2 separate regions of the Homo sapiens genome follow, and region 2 is linked to region 1. Evidence: promoter capture Hi-C in human tissues and cell types (Jung and others, 2019). All regions are on one chromosome and are shown on one strand. The core of a region is centred on a gene start or on the middle of the fragment in contact, and the rest is flanking DNA. Distances in the headings are between cores, read along the strand shown.

Region 1 (4,075 bases), core at 1,415-3,914:
AGAAGCCAAAGAAAGGAAGGAGTTTAGTCCCTTTGGCCACGTCCAGACTTAGCCTTCTCATGCCCGGACACATTTTTTAAATTGTGCTTTTCTATATTCAATGCTATTTTGGATCTTATACACCAGTGCAATGCAGAGGCCTCCCTCACAAAGCCTCTAACAGACCTGATCTTTATTAAGTGCCTTCAGTGCAACAAAAACTCTTAACAACTCATGAGGATTTCAGGGCCTCCAAACTGGCAAGCGTTTCGGGGAAATCACAGGGAAATTTGTTGGCCGCATGATTAATCCTGGGTGGATTGGTCCCGGAAAAGCACATGTGGGTTAGCAGCGAGCAGCAGCTTGCAGAATCTCACAAAATAAACTCTCTAATGAAGTGGCCCCCAAAACGTGCCTTCCTGATGAAAGTTCAGCATGAGGGTGGCGCCTGACAATGGAAAAAAATGCCAGATGTGTGGACAACAGACCTCCTTTGAATCCACTAACACCCAAAGGGATGACACATGGGACCAGATTATAAAACTGAACCAGATTATAACCCTGGAGGAGGGAAACCCAGTAGGGCGTAGGATCTTATGAAAAGGATCATAAAATTCATCACCATAATTACCCCCCAGCCCAGCTCCCCAACAAAAGCCCACAATAGCTTCGCTCAATGATGTTATTCATCCATATTCAAGTCGCCTCGCTCATTATTCTCAGACAAAAACCCTGCTGGGCCTCTGCTCCTCTGGCAGCCAGGCAACTCAGCACCCACCCTCACTCAGCCAGCCCCGCATACCACTTCTTTCTTTAGTAGTGGAGTTTCCAGCACCAACGATGGTTTTTCGGTTTTAACGCCATCTTTTAGGAGTACCTTTGACATTCAGGAGCCGGCTGAAGGGAATCACAGCTAAAGCTTCCCTGGGCAAAAACAAAGGATGTTACCCAGCAGCTTTTTCTTTAGCAGGGCTGAGATGCTGAAGTGAGGGCGCTCCCTTGCTTTGCCCTGGTGAGCACAAAACGGTGTCATTTGCACATTGTCTCGCCAAAAAGGAAATGTAACTGAAAATACAGAACTGTATATATTCCAGTGGAAAGAGAAGTTCCAAAGATAGGACTGCTACGAATAACCCACGGCCCCTATAAAAAGAGTTGCTCAGTCCCTTTGAAGCAGACAGCACAGCATAGAGCAGAACTCTGTCATTTCCCTGAGATTGGGTATTTTTGTCTGTGTGGACCATTGTAGGAGGCCAGGTTAGGCGCACCCCTCCTGCAAACCGCTCCCTCTCCAAGAAGTATTCCTCAGGGCCTAGGCCTACCTTGATCCTCAATTTTTGGAAAATGTTTACTTTTCACAGCATAACTCAGCAACCTCCAGCCCCAAAGATCACGAGTTAGGTTACAATTCCTTCAACCAACATTTAGTGAGCAACTACTATGTGCCAGGCATTGTTTTGGCCGTGGGGAATCATGGCTGGATGTAGCTGCGTCCTGCAGAACATATGTTCTATTGAGGAAATATAAAAATAAAAACCCAAGAAAAGAAAACAAAATGTTGACAGATGTCAATGGAGACCACCAACACAGCAACCCAGCGGGAAGAGGTAAGGCTCCAGGAGAGGACAAAGGGTAATGGAAGCTGTGGACGCCCCCACCCCAACATGGGATACAAAATATTTAAAGCCTAAGGAGTCACCAACAGACATTCAGCCACTGATGTTGTTGCCCAAGATGAACACGTGGCTCAAACCCACTTAAACCTCAATGTTCGTAACGCGTAACAATCCTCATGCACTCACACTCCTCGGAAGCCTCCACTTGGATCCTTTCCACACACACTATCCTCTCTAAAGAGGATAAAGGAGGCCTCTTCCAGTCCAGTGACGGGGTGCTGAGTGTGTCCAACAGGCAGGGCGCCAGACTAGGTAGTCCCAAGGGGGACCAGGGCCACCGCAGGGCGGGGAACCCTCCCCTTGGCCCAAGCCCTCCTGAACGTCCCTCCTGATTCTACGAGGCCAGCTTCTCCCGAGGCGTGCGTATTCCTCCAACACACCGCTCTATGGGAAGGAAACCCCAGCCACTGCTGCCAGCAAGCGGGGCTGCCTACTGTGAACCTTCCACCCGATCTCTCTGGTGCTGCCGACTCGGAGGGAGGCCCCCTGTGCTGCCCACCTCGCAGCCTGTGGATTCCGGGGCTCCTCCCGGCACACCCGCGCAGCTGCGTCTTTGGGACCTGGCACCGACTAAGCCGCTGCCTCTCCTCCTCCGGCGCTCAGCCGCCTGACACGCACACACCCTCAGCTCCCCCGCGCTCCCCTGGACAACCTCGAATACCAGGCCCGGGCATTCCAGCAAGTCTCTGCTCGCTCGTCCCCATCAGCGACGGCAGGAAGCCACTTGCGCTGGGTCTTACCTCCTTCTGCCAGGACCCAGAGCGACGCGCTTCCCAAAACGAAGAGCAGAGCTGACACCTTCCACATCGTTCCCGTTGAGTTGTTGCTCTCCTGGGGGCCGAGCAGCAAGATTCTGAGCTGGGGGAAAATTAAAAAGCACCGCGGCCACAGGCCCAGCCTGGAGGAGCGCGACGGTGGGGGGGCCGGAGGGGTGGGAGCAGGAGCCCCGGAGAGGGAGGGTGCCCGAGCTTCCCAGACCCTAGGCAGCCGGACAGCAAACTTTGCAGTTGAGAACTTTCCGAGCGGAGTCAGCATTTATCTCTCCCGAGGAGGCGGGGGAGCGGGGTCGGCCGCAAGGTGGTCTCCGTCCGGGCGCGCTAGGCCCGCCCTCGGGCTCTGTTTGGCCGGCGCCAAAACGATGATCTCAGGCCAGGTTTAAAGTTACAGGGCCGCAGCTGCGGGGGCCGCCAGGACTGCGGGCCCTGGCAAAATGGGCTTTTATTCTGCTCAACAACAGGAGGGAAAGGGACCACATGCAACAAACGGGGTTTTAAAAATTATATATAAATTTTAAAAAACCTATATTTATTATTATTATTTTTTTAAGAGTAAGGCACAAGTCTATGTTTTTCTTGTTATGGGCAGAAGTGAGAAGTAAACTGTTTCTTGAGTGGCCAGTAGTTTTAGAACCAAGCATGGGGTTTTTCCTGTAAATATTGAATTTGATGGCTTAAAAACAAAAAAAGTTGGCCGTCATCTGGGTGGGCCAGAGGCGGCCCGCGCTGGTCAATTGCGCCCTTGTCCCGGGGACCGGAGCGGGCGGGCTCCGGGGGGCTGCCCCAGAGCTGGCTGGTGGGGGAGTTTGGCAGACCGGGTGGCTTTGGCAGTTTTGAAAAAGAGGCTGAACTCCATCCGCCTCTGCCGACCCGGGGATCCAGCGCTGCGATGCTGTGGCCCACCGACGTGCGCAGTTGGATTAGGCCGGGCCAAGCGGTGACCCGTCTGGTCGCCAAACCTGTGTCCCCTTCCAGGCCTGGTTCACCCTCTTTATTCCTGAGTTTGCTCCCATAATCCTCACTTTACTGGTTTAAGCGATCTTGCCTTGATCTCAGGTACCAGATATCAGCAACCAGAGAACTTACGTCTTTTACTTTAATTCCTTCTGAATTGCTGGAATTTAAAAAAATAAGAACAGGAGTTTGGGAAGTGGTCTCTGCTCCACTCCCAGATGCCACAAATTCCATTCAACAAAAGAACCTGAAGACTAACGCTGTCTCAAAGCTCCACATTGCGTGAAAATTGTTTTCAGATGCTTATCTTTGACCCCTCCCCATTATAAATTTACTTTCTAAGAATCACAGGAGAGATTGTTTTAAATAAATGCCCAGTTTCCTGGGTTCCACCCCAAACTCATTAATCAGACCTTTTCGGAATTCCTATTTTAAACCAGTGTCGCTGGAGAACTTGTCCCCATGAACATTTGGCAAACCTTGCCCTTCATCATAGCTTCTCAGCCAGATCTACCTGGGGCACTGGTTATGCAGGTGCAATTCTGTTGTGGGATAGGGAGAGATTCTGCATTTCTAAAGATCTCCCAGGTAACGTCTTGTCCTGGGGCTACAAACAGGAGCTGAGCACCTGAACCTAGAAGATGAGGGGTAGCGGCAACACCCCTAGAGCCAAGGAGTTGGAAATGTAAA
Region 2 (4,580 bases), core at 320-2,819, 1.9 Mb before region 1:
CTAGGGTCTACATCTGTAAAACCGGCGGGGGGTGGGAATACTTTCCTGGCAGGATTGTAGTTAAGGATAAGTGAAATAAGCATGAAAAGTGGCTAGCACGATGCCTGGGACTTAGCAAATGCTCAGTAAACAGAAACGATTATTTTTGAAATGTGAAAATGAACCGTTCAGAACGATGGGAGTTTACAGGACTAGATTTCTGCCGTTTTTTTTTTTTTCTGTGTGGGAGGTGTTAGGGTGGGAGGGAGGGAAGAGGGAATGGAAGACTGTGTAAGGTGGGCTTGGTTGGATCAGACACTCGAGTTTGGAACAGTCAACTGCGATCTGGGCACAAGGGCGGTGAGGGGAGCTTATGGTTTTACTTGGGGTGGAGGAGGGGGCTAAGGGGAAGCCATGCCCCGGAGGAGGTTGAATGGGCGGGACAGATCACGGCTCCACTCATGGTTTCCCTCTTGCTGGAAGTGTGACGACTCCCTCCGGATCTCTGTAAAAGCGGGGCTATAGTGAATTCTGGCGAAGGGCCCGCGGTGGACCAGGAACTGGTGCCAGAATTGCAAAAGGGCACCTGCGCCCGGAGTGGGGAGGTGATGCGGGGGCGGGGCGGGGCCCTGGGGGCGGGGCGAGTCGCGGAGGTGCCGCCTTGGGGCGGGGCGGTGACAGAAGGATGGATCCTGGGGGTGAGGATTGACTTTGGGGGCGGGGCGAGAGTGCGAACTGGAGTCTGAGGCTGAGCGGTGACGCAAGGACGATTCTGAGGGTGGAGCGAGGGGAGGGGATTGGCTCTTGGAGGCGGGGCGGTGGCACGAGGCTAGCCCTTGGGGGCGGGGCGGTGGCGCAAGATTGACCTTGGGGGCGGGGTGGGGGCGTGGGTTGAATCCTGGGGGCGGGGCGGTGGCGCGGAATGGATTCTGGGGTCGGCGCGAGGCGCTGAGGTGCGTCCTGAGGGCGGGGCGATGACGCAGAGCGAATCCTGGGGGCGGGGCGAGACCTTCTAGATGCGTCCCGGGGAGTGGGCGGTGACGCGGTGGCAGGTTCTGGGGACAGGCGGTGACCCCAGAATTGACCCTGGGGACAGGGCGAGGCGCGGAGGCGTCCTGAAGGCGAGGCGGTGACGCAAGAGCGAATCCTTGGGGCGGGGCGAGGCGTTGGAGATGCGTCCTGCGGGCGGGACGGTAACGCGGGGGCGGGGCGGTGACGTGAGGTCAGTGCGGGGATACGGGGCGGGTTCTGGGGCGGGGACGCAGTGGTGGATTCTGGAGCGGGGCGGTGACGTGGGGCGGGTTCTGGGGCGGGGCGGTGACGCGGAGCGTGTTCTGGGGCGGCGCGGTGATGGGAGGCTTGGCCCTGGGGGCGGGGCGAGGCGCAGAGGTGCGTCCTGAGGGCGGGGCGGTGACGCAAGAGCGACTCCTGGGGGCGGGGCGAGGCCTTGGAGATGCGTCCGGAGGCGGTGGGGAGCGAAGACTGACCCGGGGCCGTGACGCGGGGGCAGGCCCTGGGGCGGGGGCGGGTCCTGGGGACTGGGGCGGGCGGCCGAGGCCCGGAAGCGGACTGAGGCGGCCTGGAGTCTTAGTTGGCTACTCGCCATGGACGAAGCGGATCGGCGGCTCCTGCGGCGGTGCCGGCTGCGGCTGGTGGAAGAGCTGCAGGTGGACCAGCTCTGGGACGCCCTGCTGAGCCGCGAGCTGTTCAGGCCCCATATGATCGAGGACATCCAGGTGCGCCCCCGGCCCCCTGTCCCCGCGCTGCACGGCCGGGTCCCCACGCCCCTCGAGGAGGCGTTGTGCGGGAGCCTAGCCTTCCCTGTGGCTTCAAACCCCTCAGCGGAGCCAAAGAATCCCAAACACCTCTTAGTCGGGTGTTCGCTAAAGCGATTCCATGCCATACTCAGTCAGCGTACACTGTTAGTGCTTGTGTTTCTTGTGTAAAGGAAAAATGTGAGACACATCTTGAGAACTTTGAATAAGAAACAATTCATGAATTGGAGAACATCAGACTGAAAGAGCTTTAGTGTTGCAATGACAAAACGTCAGAGGCAAGTATTTATTGGGAAAATGTGGAAGCAAAATAAAGAAATTATTTGATTGGTTTGCAGTTACAAAATTGCCTTTTTTTTTTAAGGTCTGTTAATTGACTGCTTTTGGCTGGTCTTAAGTTTTATTTCTCTCTAACATAAGCATTTATCAGATATGACCCAAGTTAAATTTTGCTTATGTTTGCAGTTTAAGCAAGATTTAGGTCACTTAGGATACCTGATTGGTTTTGTCTGCTCAGGAATTCTTCATGGTTGGTCTCCATTTTAATTTACGTTAATACTTGCGAGGAAGGAGGCGTGTGCGTTTTTACTTTTCTAGCATAGAGGTTTCGGGAACCCACTTTGGCATCAGGCTGCCTGGCAGCGTGTTCTTGGGCCAGTCACTTACCCTCTTTGAGCCACAGTTTCTGGGCTGTGAAATGGGAATAAGAATAATACTGTCATAAGGACTAAATGAAATAACGGATGTGAAACTGTAGTGCTAGGCACAGAGCGGGGGATCAGCGTACCCTGCCCTCTTTGGCCAGCCCCTTCTGTGTTCAGTTTATGTTTTGTTAAGAGGTTTTGGAAATGAGGGGACCTGATGCAGAATGGAGAATAATGAAGTCAAACATTTGAGGTTTTGTTTAAAAGCACTTTCCCATCTTTGTCTCATTTGACCCTCATCACAGGCCTGTGAGGATGCAGGAGATATTTCCTACCATGAGGTGCAGTAGGTGTGAGTGGCTGGCTGGATATCCCTGGCCAGTGCCCTGGCCCAGGGAAAGAGTCTTTAAATAATTGAGTATCATATGAGTAATTATTCATTAATAATAAAATAAGTTTTGTGCCTTCTGTGTGGCCCCTACTGGGGAACAGTAATGGTTTGAGGCCACAGTCCTTGCCTTCAGGAATGTTCACGGGGATCACAAACTCAAATGCCCATGGAGGACCAATGGATGGGCGTCATAGTGGATAGCCTTTGCACTGCCCTCCGTCTCCAGCTGAGTATGGCCATATCAACAAATGGCCCAGTATTGCCACATCTTACACTTATTTTGAGGCAGGGTCTCACTCTTGCCCAGCCTGGAGTGCAGGGATGAGATCATGGCTCACTGCGACCTTGACCTCCTGGGCTTAAGTGGTCTTCCTGCCTCAGCCTTTAGAGCAGCTGGGACTTTAGGCACATGCCACCATGCCTGGCTAATTAAAAAAAATTTTTTTTTTGTACAGATAGGAGTCTTGCTATGTTGCCTAGATGAGTCTCAAACTCTTGGCCTCAAGTGATTCTCCTGCCTCAGTGTTGGGATTACAGGTGTGAGCCACTGTACCCGGCCCAGCTTTCACATCTTAAAAAAGAAGCTGAAAATCTTGATTCCTCTGTCAAATTCCCTGGCTTAAAATGTTAGCAACAAATTCAGAAATTTTTTAAGAACCTTGTGGGAACCACAGGTTGCCATTTTGCCATTCAGTATGGCTGAAAAACAGGCAGGTTTTGGAACCAGTTGGATCTGGGCTCTCATCCTGGCCTTGTTACATATTAGCAAGTTGTAAAAAACCACAACCAATGAGCCAAACAAACAGAAAAACCCTATGACTCAGTTTCCCTGAAATTTTTTACCCTAAAAAGTTGGGAAGTTCTAATTTAACTCTATAAAGTTATTGAGGGAGAAAAAGATGAAACAATGCATTTAACACAGTGTTGACCTCCTGGAGTGTTCAGCAAATGTGGAGAGAAACCTAAACACCACCATCTATTTGCATGTAGCCAACTGTTCTGCTAGTGAGACTTACCTTCTCAGTGGCACTGTAGGTCTGTGCTGTTCCCAACAGTAGCCATTAGCCACATGTCGTTAAAGGTAAATTTGAAGTAATTAAAATTAAATAAAACTAAAAATTGGTAGGGTCAAGCCTTACAGGGCCTGTGGGTTTTTCTCCTCGTGTGCGGAGATGAGAGATCGTAGAAATAAAGACACAGGAGAAAGAGATAGAAAAAAAGACAGCTGGGCCCGGGGGACCACTACCACCTAGACGTGGAGACAGGGTAGTGGCCCCGAATGCCTGGCTGCGCTGTTATTGGATATAAGGCAAGGGGACAGGGTAAGGAGGGTGAATCTTCTAAGTGATTGATAAGGTGAAGCAAGTCACGTGATCATAGGACAGGGGGCCCTTCCCTTTTAGGTAGCTGAAGCAGAGAGAGAAGGCAGCATATGTCAGCGTTTTCTTCTATGCACTTATAAGAAAGATCAAAGACTTTAAGACTTTCACTATTTCTTCTACCGCTATCTATGAACTTCAAACAGGAACCAGGAGTACGGGAGGAACATGAAAGTGGGCAAGGAGCGTGACCATGGAAGCACAGCACCACAGGGAGGGGTTTAGGTCTCCGGATGACTGCGGGCAGGCATGGATAATATCCAGCCTCCCACAAGAAGCTGGTGGAGCAGAGTGCTCCCTGACGCCTCCAAGGAAAGGAGACTCCCTTTCTTTTTTTTTTTTTTTTGAGGTGGTGTCCCACTTTTTCGCCCAGGCTGGAGTGCAATGGTACGATCTCAGCTCACTGCAACCT

Evidence for each region. Contacts are between HindIII fragments. The study calls those that stand out against the background at their distance.
Region 2: a contact is called between the fragment with the promoter of CASP9 here and the fragment with the promoter of PDPN in region 1, in 1 of the 25 tissues and cell types used here (neural progenitor cells).

Annotation. Positions count from the first base shown.
Region 1 is chr1:13,582,421-13,586,495 of GRCh38, reverse strand. It overlaps PDPN (podoplanin), which reads right to left and starts at 2,664. Exons shown (of 6, transcript NM_006474.5): 1 at 2,396-2,664. The coding sequence starts at 2,462. RefSeq lists an enhancer at 2,223-2,761. The HindIII fragment of the contact is 13,144 bases long and covers 1-4,075 here.
Region 2 is chr1:15,521,204-15,525,783 of GRCh38, reverse strand. It overlaps CASP9 (caspase 9), which reads left to right and starts at 1,569. Exons shown (of 9, transcript NM_001229.5): 1 at 1,569-1,715. The coding sequence starts at 1,584. RefSeq lists silencers at 490-929, 1,210-1,599. The HindIII fragment of the contact is 36,637 bases long and covers 1-4,580 here.